2 separate regions of the Homo sapiens genome follow, and region 2 is linked to region 1. The links are contacts of gene promoters, found by promoter capture Hi-C in blood cells and fetal thymus (Javierre and others, 2016). All regions are on one chromosome and are shown on one strand. The core of a region is centred on a gene start or on the middle of the fragment in contact, and the rest is flanking DNA. Distances in the headings are between cores, read along the strand shown. Region 1 holds the start of PRPF3 (pre-mRNA processing factor 3). Region 2 overlaps RPRD2 (regulation of nuclear pre-mRNA domain containing 2).

Region 1 (5,601 bases), core at 856-3,355:
GTAGAGATTCTTATTCTATAATTGAGGAAACAATCTCAGAAAAAATTACCTGAAGGAAACACAGCTAGTAACCGGAAAGCTACAGTTTAAATGTATCCAATTCTAAAAATTGGAAATAAAATCAGTTTTGTTTTGTCGAGATGGAGTCTCCCTCTGTCGCCCAGGCTGCAGTGCAGTGGCGCGATCTTGGCTCACTGCAACCTCCACCTCCCGGGTTCAAGCAATTCTCCTGCCTCGGCCTCCTGAGTAGCTGGGATTACAGGTGCCCACCACCACACCCAGCTAATTTTTGCATTTTTTTTAGTAGGGATGGGGTTTCACCATGTCGGCAGACTGGTCTCAAACTCCTGACCTCAAGTGATCCACCCGCCTCGACCTCCCAAAGTGTTGGGATTACAGGCGTAAGCCACCACACCTGGCCTAAAACCAGTTTCTAGAAACACATTTCTCCATAGGGAATTGAACGCAGACTGTTAGAAGCACCAAAACAAAATAAATTTACAACAACCCTGCAATGTTGAAACTCATTAACCCATTCAACAGACTTTTTGAGTGAATATTTTGTGAGACATTGGTGTTAGAAGCTGTAGGTGGGGAAACTGATTTGTGAATAAGTTGAGCAGTAGGTTCAAACTCCCCCAACTTGTTCCTTCAGAGCCAGGCTTTATCCTGTTATGTCGTGCTGCCCCATCAGGGAAGGTGGGGCTTGGTATGTACATTGTTATCTTTAGATACAAAAATCTCCTACTATCTGGGGAATGTGAATAACCTCCCTGAAGAACAACTGCATCTTCTAGTCAGCCTACCACCAAGAAGACATTTTGGAACTTTAGTTTGGATAGTTTATAATATAAAAATAATGGAATTTTTTCCATTTCTCATATAAGAAATTGTGTCATAATACTGGACAATCTTTTTCCAAACTATCTTTGTCCACACACATGTTGTTATGAATCATCGATTTAAAGAGTCAGTAGGGGCCGGGCGCGGTGGTTCAACCCTGTAATCCCAGCACTTTGGGAGGCCGAGGTGGGCGGATCACGCGGTCAAGAGATGGAGACCATCCTGGCCAACATGGTGAAACCCCGTCTCTACTAAAAATACAAAAGTTAGCTGGACGTGGTGGTCGCGCGCCTGTAGTCCCATCTACTCGGGAGGCGGAAGTTTCAGTGAGCCGAATGCACTCCAGCCTGACGACAGAGCGAGACTCCGTCTCAAAAAATAAAAAATAAAAATAAAAAATAAAGGGTCAGTAGGTTAGAGCCTCATTTTGGAGAGAAGTTAATATATAGACCTATTGATAGAATGGAGAAAACAATACTGGTAGGTCTCACTTGTCATTTATTGAGCCCAAAGTGCTGGGATTACAGGCGTGAGCCACGGCGCCCGGCCTGACACCACTGTTAAATTAGGGAGAAAGGGTTTACTTTCTACCAGAAAGGCTGTGTTTGAACACAAACGCAGAAGCCTCGCTCTTCATTCTAGCCTAAGTTTACTTTTGCGCACTTATTCTCCATATGAGGAAAACAGCAAGTAGCCCAATTTCCGCTTCAGGAAGTTAAAGACATTAACTTGGCAGAAATCGGCCGGGCGCGGTGGCTCACGCCTGTAATCCCAGCACTTTGGAAGGCTGAGGCGGGCGGATCACGAGGCCAGGAGATCGAGACCATCCTGGCTAACACGGTGAAACCCCGGCTCTACTAAAAATACAAAAAATCAGCCGGGCGTGGTGGCGGGCGCCTGTAGTCCCAGCTACTCGGGAGGCTGAGGCAGGAGAATGGCGTGAACCCGGGAGGCGGAGCTCGCAGTGAGCCGAGATCGCGTCACTGCACTCCAACCTGGGCGACAGAGCGAGACTCCGTCTCAAAAAAAAAGCTAAAAAAAAAACCTTGGCAGAAATCTAGCTAATAGGTTTAGCCTGGGAAATAGAAAGCAAGGAAATTGCTCAGGGAAACTTTTCGGTTCTGCGACGCATGCGTTCAGCCTCCAAGAAAGTGGCAAATACGGCTGCGCGAATTGGCGGCCCGGCCCTCCTTGGTCACGTGTTGGGAGACAGCGGCGTGGCGGCGGCGGTGGCGGTAGCGACGGCACGCCGTAGGGCGGTCAGAAGGTTTCCGGTTCCGGTGTAACGTTCGGGCTCCGTCTCAGGGGCTGAAGTTTGTGAGGTGAGTAGTGGCCCCGGGCCCACAGAGGGTAATTCCAGTCCGCGCCACTGTGGCCGGGGACTCAGTCCAAGGGGAGGACCGAAGCGGGAGGGTTCAGCGGGAAGGAGTGTGAAAGGAGTACCTGGTTTGGTGGGAGAAGAGGTTGGAATGAGATTGTTGAGAGGAAAAGGGCGGGGGCGGGAAGGAGACCGGGTTGGGAGACCAGCTCTGGGGTGAGGAGTTTAGGTAGAACAAGGTAGAGTAAGAGACTGGTTGGAGTGACGGAGAGAGTAAAAATGAAGATTAGCGGGGGAGTGGGGGGCTGCAGAGGGAAACTCAGGTTGTAGCAAACAAGAGCACGGAGTAAGGAATTCCTTCTGAAGACTGGATTTGGATTCTGCTGCCTGCTCATTGAGAGGAGAGATCATTGTACCTCGCTTTCCTTCCGCACCCCCACTACCCCCGCACCTCGCAGTTATTGTTGAGCATTTGATTAGTGACAAGGCTAATTACCGTTTGAAACTTTTTTATCCATTGGCTGTTTAGTTTGCACGTCATCTTATGGAGGTAACAGTGGCACCTCATTTATTGCTTTGGGCTTTCAAATTGCTTATACTTTCTAGCCTATCATTCAATTCTAGTGGAATATAAGACCCGTTAAGGTGAGGACTCTTGTTAGTTTTGCTCACTGTTTTATGTATCCACCGCACCTAGTACATTGCTTGACACTTAGTAGTTACTCAATAAATATTTATTGAATGAATTAGGATGTAAATATGGCAGTACTCATTTTGTAAGATGGTAAACTGTGGCTCCAAAGAATTACTTAACTTGCCCAAGGGCTTGTAAATGGTGGGGCTCAGTGTCCCAACTGTTTCTGTGTGAACTCTTGTTTTCACTTTCTATGGCATCTGGATATGCCGCTTTTGTGCAATACATGTGTAATATGTAGAAATTGGTACGCTGTATGTCTACTCATTGTGGGGTAATAGAACCACCATAGAATTACTCACGTAACTTGTCACTGAGGCAGAAAATCTTTCAGTCTTAGTTTCATCACTTCAATCTACTAGCTTCCTTTGGATATACCAAAAGTGAGTCTATTTGGCATCAAGTCTTATAGACTCTAGTATAGAGGCTAAACTTACCAAGAATGTAGAAGTTAATCAGACTGGATTTTTTGGAGAAAAGATGTCTTAAAACATCTTGAAAGATGATTCCCAGATCTTTGATAAGTGGCACTGCTGGGAATAGCTGAGCTTGGAAATTGAGGTCAGTCAATTTATTGACTCCCATTTAGACACCTTTTTTTTTTTTCCCCGGGACGGAGTCTTGCTCTGTCGCCCAGGCTGGAGTGCAGTGGTGCGATCTCGGCTCACTGCAACCTCCGCCTTCCATGTTCAAGGGATTCTCCTGTCTCAGCCTCCAGAGTAGCTGGGATTACAGGTGCAGGTCACCACGCCCAGCTAATATTTGTATTTTTAATAGGGATGCGGTTTCACCATGTTGGCCAGGCTGGTCTCGAACTCCTGACGTCAGATAATCCACCCGCCTTGGCCTCCCAAAGTGTTGGGATTACAGGCGTGAGCCACCGCACCTGGCTTTTTTTTTTTTTTTTTTTTTTTTGGAGACACAGTTTCACTCTGTCGCTCAGGCTGGAGTGCACATGATTTTGGCTCACCGCAACCTCCGCCTCCTGGGTTCAAGTGATTTTCCTGCCTCTGCCTCATAAGTAGCTGGGATTACAGGTGCCCACCACCTCACCTGGCTAATTTTTGTATTTTTAGTAGAGACAGGTGCAGTGGGTCACGCCTGTAATCCCAGAACTTTCGGAGGTCAAGGTGGGCAGATCACTTGAGGTAAGGCATTACCTGGCCGATATGGTGAAACCGTGTCTTTATTAAAACTACGAAATTGGCCAGGCGTGGTGGTGCATGCCTGTAGTCCCAGCTACTTGGGAGGCTGAGGCAGGAGAATCAAGTGAACCCAGGAGATGGAGGTTGCAGTGAACCAAGATTACGCCACTGCACTCCAGCCTGGGCGACGGAGTGAGACTCTGTCTCAAAATAAAAATGAGGGTATTCTTTTCTGAGCTGAAGGATCATCAAGTCAGCTGATGGAGACCCTGTAGATTGAACATGATAATTACCTGTATGCAGAATTCCCACTGGGATGAATATGACCACAGAGAAATGTGACAGAACATTCTTTTTTTTTTTTTTTGAGACGGAGTCTTACTCTGTTGCCCAGGCTGGAGTGCAGTGGCGCGATCTTGGCTCACTGCAACCTCTGCTGCCTGGGTTCAAGTGATTCTCTTGTCTCAGCCTCCCGAGTAGCTGGGATTACAGGCGCCTGCCACCATGCCCAGCTAAATTTTTTTGTAGTTTTTAGTAGAGATGGGGTTTCACCATCTTGGCCAGGCTGGTCTTGAACTCCTGACCTCGTGATCCACCTGCCTCAGCCTCCCAAAGTGCTGGGATTACAGGCGTGAGCCACCGCGCCCGGCCAGAACATTCTTAAAGATCATGAGATTTAATTTAATATCTAAGATGACTGACCTGGATAAACCCTCTTTTACTTGCATACCTTAAAAGAAGGGAATCCTACATAAGTCAGGGTTGGGTTAGGGAATGCCTGCCTGGAAGTAGGAAGAATGGAAAAGCTGGCCTCTGGATGGGCTTTTTTAGTTCTGTTTTAGTGTTACTAGGTTTGCAAGTCCTTGTTGATATGACAGGATCAAGAAAGAAGCTAGAACTAATTTCTCAGACTTAGCTTATTCACAGAGTTTGTTTATTCCGCAGATTTCATTGATCAACTTAAGAGTTAGAATTAAAAATCAAATGGGATCTCTTTCTGCTTTGAGATATGGTTCTTGGGGAAAATATTTGCCTTCAAATGAGTTGGAAAAACTTGTCTAGGGATTGAGAATAGGGCTGGGGAATGCATTCCTGATGTACTAACCATTTCCCTGGATCACTTTAGTCTTTTTTTTTTTTGTAGAGAGAGTCTTGCTTTGTCGCCCAGGCTGGAGTGCAGTGGTGCGATTTTGACTTGTTGCAAGCTCTACCTCCCTGGTTATTCCCCTGCCTCAGCCTCCCAAGTAGCTGGGATTACAGGCACATGCCACCACGCCCAGCTAATTTTTTTGTATTTTTAGTAGAGGCAGGGTTTCACCATGTTGGCCAGACTGGTCTCGAACTCTTGACCCCAGGCAGTCCATCCACCTTGGCCTCCCAAAGTGCTGGGATTACAGGCATGAGCCACTGCACCCAGCCCACTTTAGTCTTTTCTTATTCTCTAACTTGTCTCTTTTTTTTTTTTAGGTGTAGTATTGAGTCCTGTTTGAGCTATTGTTCTCTTTTTCCTGAAAAATGGCACTGTCAAAGAGGGAGCTGGATGAGCTGAAACCATGGATAGAGAAGACAGTGAAGAGGGTCCTGGGTTTCTCAGAGCCTAC
Region 2 (5,512 bases), core at 1-2,500, 150 kb after region 1:
TGGGAGGCTGAGGCGGGCAGATCACCTAAGGTCAGCAGTTCAAGACCAGCCTGGCCAACCAGGTGAAATAACATCTCTACTAAAAATATGAAAATTAGCCAGGTGTGGTGACACACACCTGTAGTGTGCTGAGATCGCAGTAAGCCGGAATCACGCTACTGCACTCCAGCCTGGACGACAGAGCAAGACTCAGTCCAAAAAAAAAAAAAAAAAAAAAAATTTTTTTATGACGCTTCAAGAACATAGTGAAACCCTGTCTCTACAACGGAATTAAAAATTAGCGCCGGGCGCGGTGGCTCACGCCTGTAATCCCAGCACTTTGGGAGGCTGAGGCAGGCGGATCATGAGTTCAGGAGATCGATACCATCCTGGCTAACACAGTGAAACCCCGACTCTACTAAAAATACAAAAAATTAGCCGGGCGTGGTGGCGGGCACCTGTAGTCTTGGCTACTTGGAAGGCTGAGGCAGGAGAATGGTGTGAACCCAGGAGGTGGAGGTTGCAGTGAGCCAAGATTGCCCCACTACACTCCAGCCTGGGCAAAAGAGCAAGACTCTGTCTCAAAAAAAAAAAAAAAAAAAAAATTAGCTGGGCATAGTGGTGCATGCCTGTAGTTCCAGCTACTCAGGGGGCTAAGGCAGGAGGATCACTTGAGCCCAGGAGTTCAAGGCTGCAGTACGCTGTGGTCACCCCACTGTACTCCAACCTAAGTGATGAGACCCTGCCTCAAAAAAAAAAAAAAAAAAATTTCTGAGACATGAATATATCTTTTTTTGTCCTAATGTTTTATAGAGGCTTCATTATTTATTATTTTATTTATTATTTTATTAGAGTCTTAGATGTAGTATTTTTGTTTTCACCTACCTATAATCTCTCTCATTTGACCCTTTCTGTTCAGCTTTACTAATTATGTTTTGTGCATGACACTGCCTGTTTCTAACCTTTTTTCATAAATCTTTCCTACTCTCTACTCTCTTATGCTCCAGATACCAATGAAATCCTTTTTAAGTACCGTAGTATAATTATGAAATGAATTACAAATACCAGGGCAATATATTCAGTGTAGTGATTTACTCTATATCAGTAGTCTCAACCAAAGGCCTCCAGGGAGGACACTTGGCAATATTTGGAGACCTTTTTAGTTGTCTCAACTGGGGTAATGGTAGGGGTGCTACTGCCTCTAGTGAGTAGAGGCCAGGAGGATGCTCCTAAATATCCTACAATGTGTGAGACAGCCCCAACAATAAAGAATTATCTAGCCCAAAGTGTCAGTAGTGCTGAGGTTGAGAAACCCTGCTCTCTATCAAAGGAGTGGTGTAAAACAGTTTCCTAAACTGTTATGTAAGTGGATCATTCAAGCATATTATAGTGAACTTTGTCTGGAGGTGCAGAAGAATTTTGTTACACAGAACTAAATAGTATTAAGTAATAATCCACAGCCCCTATCTATTGGCATCAGCAATAAAGAATTGATGATGACTGCAGCACATGTTGTACTACTAATATCAGGGACAATTTGAGAGTTTGACATGTTTATGCTTTCTCCCTTTTTATTTTTATTTGTTTGTTTGTTTTTGAGACGGGGACTTGCTCTGTTGCCCAGGCTGGAGTGCAGTGGTGTGATCTCGGCTCACTGCAACCTCTGCCTCTCGGGTTCAAGTGATTCTCTTGCCTCAGCCTCTCGAGTAGCTGGTATTACAGGCTCACACCACCATGCCCGGCTAATTTTTGTATTTTTAGTAGACACGGGGTTTCGCCATGTTGGCCAGGCTGGTCTCGAACTCCTGACCTCACGTGATCCACCTGCCTCGACCTCCCAAAGTGCTGGGATTACAGGTGTGAACCACCGTGCCTGGCCGATGTGAAATTTCTGATGAGGCAAAATTTGAACAGAACTAGGTTCCTTATGGAATGTGGAATTCTCTTTGACTTTTAAAAGGATTGTATCTAGCAAGTTAAATAGATGTATTTCCTCGAAGACTGTTAATGAAATCCCAGAACTTTGTTCTGATTGTGTCATCCACAGCCCTAGGTATTGACAGATTTATAACACAAAAGAGAGACTTCAGGCCCGGTGTGGTGGGTCACACCTGTAATTCCAGCACTTTGGGGACGGGTGGATCACCTGAGGTCAGGAGTTCAAGACCAGCCTGGCCAACAGGGTAAACCTGTCTTTCCAAAAAAAAATACAAAAAAATTAGCTGGGCGTGGTGGCTCACAGCTGTAACCCCAACTACTTGGGAGGCTGAGGTAGGAGAATCGCTTGAACCCGGAAGGCAGAGGTTGCAGTGAGCCAGCCTGGGCGACGAGCAAAACTCTGTCTCAAAAAAAGAGAAACTTCAGTGGGCAAAGGAGCAGAGTATGACTTGTTATGATTAAAGAGCAAACTTTTGGCTGGGCGCAGTGGCTCATGCCTGTAATCCTAACACTTTGGGAGGCCACGATGGGAGGATCACTTGAGGCCAGGAGTTTGAGACCAGCCTGGTCAATATAGCAAAACCCCTATCTCTATTGTTTTTAAGAATTTTTAAAAATAATTAAAAAAAAAAAAGATTGGAGAACAGTAATATTTAGTGGTGAGAGACAATTTTACCTATTACCAGAAATCTGAGTAGTATATCTATCTTAAAAAGATGTTCTTTTGAAGAAGTTATCCCAAAATATCTGAAAAATATGCTGAAATATCTTCTAAAAATCATATTACATTATTATATATCACATTCTAGTGTTTGAGGACTTCTGGGTTTTGTGAGAACAGTGATTACTAAGAATTAAATCAGGCTGGGCATGGTGGCTCACGCCTGTAATCTCAGCACTTTGGGAGGCTGAAGTGGGACAATCACTTGAGCCCAAGATTTTGAGATCAGCCTGCGCAACATGGTGAGACCTTGTCTCTACTAAAAATAAAAAAGTTAGCTGGGCATAGTGATGTACACCTGTGGTCCCAGCTACTCAGGAAGCTAAGGCAGATAAATCTTTTGAGCCCAAGAGGTTGAGGTTACAGTGAGCTATGATCGCACCACTGCACTCCAGCCTGGGTGACAGAGCAAGAGCCTGTCTCTTGAAAAAAAAAAAGGAAACTATTAGTAGGGATGAATTATGTGGCTAGGGAACTTTTTTTGGAATGAAACATGCCGATTTTTTTTTTTCTTCAGAAGGATCATAACTAAAGTAAACATTATTTCAGTTGTTTGGATATTACTGAATATTGGATAACAATAAAGACCATCCAACATTATTTAGAAATAAATGGCTTTAAAATGTTACAAGGATGGAGGGGACTTGAAATTCTTTAGGCCAAATCTGTTAGAATATGGGTTAAAATTGAAATTTTGAAGAAATGTTAATTGAAATATCACATGAAGTATTTTCTTTAATCATATAATTACTAAGGAACAATGTTAGTGTATTCAGTGACTAAAAGCTATAAATTTGGGTGAAATGTATATTAAAAATTTTTTTAATTAATTTATTTTTAAATACAGAGACTCACTTTGCCACCCAGGCTGGTGTGCAGTGGCAGAGTCATAGTTAGTTTACTGTAACCTTGAACTGGGCACAAGTGATTCTCCAGCCTCAGCCTCCTGAGTAGCTAGGACTACAGGCATGCACCATCATGCCCAGCTGATTTTTAAATTTTTTTTAGAGACAGAGTCTCTCTGTGTTTCCCAGGCTGGTCTCAAACTCCTGGCCTCAAGCCATCCTCCTGCCTCTGCTGCCCAAAATGCTAGGATTACAGGCATGAGCCACCGTGCCCAGCCAAAAGTCTTCATTTGTGACCAGAAATTGGGTAAATTTTTAAAAATATGATTGAATTTATAGAACCTTCTGTTATCTTTTTGTCAAATATTTTTCTAAAAAATTTTCTACAGGAGCAGTTTGCTTTGTTGAACTTCAGCCTTTGCCCCAAAGAATTCTTTCTCAGTGCTTCTGAGAAAGTTTTGACTGTCAGTGAACACAGTTAAATTCCATCATTGTCAATCTGGACTAAATAATCCTTGGATTTTCCACACTATAAAATGGGGATTGTGTGTTTTCTTGTGAAAGGACCAGTGTCCCTGGTGGTCTGTCTTTGTAAGTCTTTGTGGTGTATGTTTGTTATAGCTACATTTTACAACCAAAACGGATGGTTGAAAGCATTGTTTTTCAAAAAGTAACAACAGTCTACCAAGAGGTGCTTCTTGAAAAAGGTGTTTGCTGTTCAGATAAGTTTCTGAAATTTGCATTTGCCTGTCTCCCGCTTGAAAATAACAATGTATATTAACTTATTAGAGATAATAAGTTTGAAGGTTGAAGGTTGGTTTGAAGGTTGGACAGGAAAGGTAGAACAGATCTGTTTGCATTTAGAGAAACACTTCCACAGATCAAACATTAAGAAATACTGGCTTAAAGTGTTGTTTTAAGAATAACTTTGCCTCCTTTCTTTTCCTGCTTTGCCTAACTTAAACTATGAATGATTCTGACATTAAAATCTCCCCCTTCCTGTTGCCTTTTATTGTGCCATGTTGGGCTGATTTCTGGACTGTACTGGAAACATTTCAGTGATTTGCTCTTTATTGATAAAATAGGCCCTGTATTTTCTGTGACATTTAGCCATTGCTTGTTTGGTCTGGATTCCTTTTGGCCTTACACTTTGTCTATCTGGTTCCCACCAAAATGAATGAGAGTATCTGATTAGCCTACATTGTTTGCATTGTATGATAGGGAGTTGTTCTTTTTAACCCCTCTAATCTTTGTTTCTACAGGCCTGTCATCTTTACTTCAGAGTGTTACTGGGAACCCAGTTCCAGCCAGTGAAGCTGCCTCACAGAGCACTTCAGCCTCCCCTGCCAACACCACAGTCTCTACCATAAAGGGAAGAAATCTGCCCTCCAGTGCCCAACCTTTTATTCCCAAAAGCTTCAACTATTCTCCTAACTCATCAACTTCTGAAGTCTCTTCAACTTCAGCCAGCAAGGCCTCAATTGGGCAAAGCCCAGGGCTCCCAAGCACTACTTTTAAACTACCTTCCAACTCTTTGGGGTTTACAGCTACCCACAATACTAGCCCTGCTGCCCCACCTACTGAAGTTACCATCTGCCAATCTTCAGAGGTCTCCAAGCCAAAGCTGGAGTCAGAGTCCACCTCCCCAAGCCTGGAAATGAAGATTCACAACTTCTTAAAAGGTAATCCTGGTTTCAGTGGCTTAAACTTAAACATCCCAATCCTGAGCAGTTTGGGGTCCAGCGCCCCATCAGAGAGCCATCCCTCAGACTTCCAGCGTGGCCCTACTAGCACCTCAATCGACAACATTGATGGAACCCCTGTACGGGATGAACGGAGTGGGACACCCACCCAGGATGAGATGATGGACAAGCCCACATCCAGCAGTGTAGATACTATGTCCCTGCTTTCTAAGATCATTAGCCCTGGTTCCTCAACACCCAGCAGTACAAGATCACCACCCCCTGGGAGAGATGAAAGCTACCCCCGAGAGCTCTCCAATTCTGTATCTACATATCGACCCTTTGGT

Evidence for each region. The method cuts DNA at HindIII sites, captures the fragments that hold promoters and counts their contacts. A CHiCAGO score of 5 or more calls a contact.
Region 2: a contact is called between a fragment that was not itself captured here and the fragment with the promoter of PRPF3 in region 1, in 1 of 17 cell types (M1 macrophages). The highest score is 5.5, in M1 macrophages.

Annotation. Positions count from the first base shown.
Region 1 is chr1:150,319,428-150,325,028 of GRCh38, forward strand. It overlaps PRPF3 (pre-mRNA processing factor 3), which reads left to right and starts at 2,106. Exons shown (of 16, transcript NM_004698.4): 1 at 2,106-2,165; 2 at 5,468-5,601. The coding sequence starts at 5,516. RefSeq lists enhancers at 1,220-1,785, 1,915-1,964, 2,155-2,204. The HindIII fragment of the contact is 20,070 bases long and covers 1-5,601 here.
Region 2 is chr1:150,465,816-150,471,327 of GRCh38, forward strand. It overlaps RPRD2 (regulation of nuclear pre-mRNA domain containing 2), which reads left to right. Exons shown (of 11, transcript NM_015203.5): 11 at 4,746-5,512. Among named protein-coding and RNA genes, the nearest start is that of TARS2, 19 kb to the right of the region's middle. The HindIII fragment of the contact is 7,293 bases long and covers 1-4,897 here.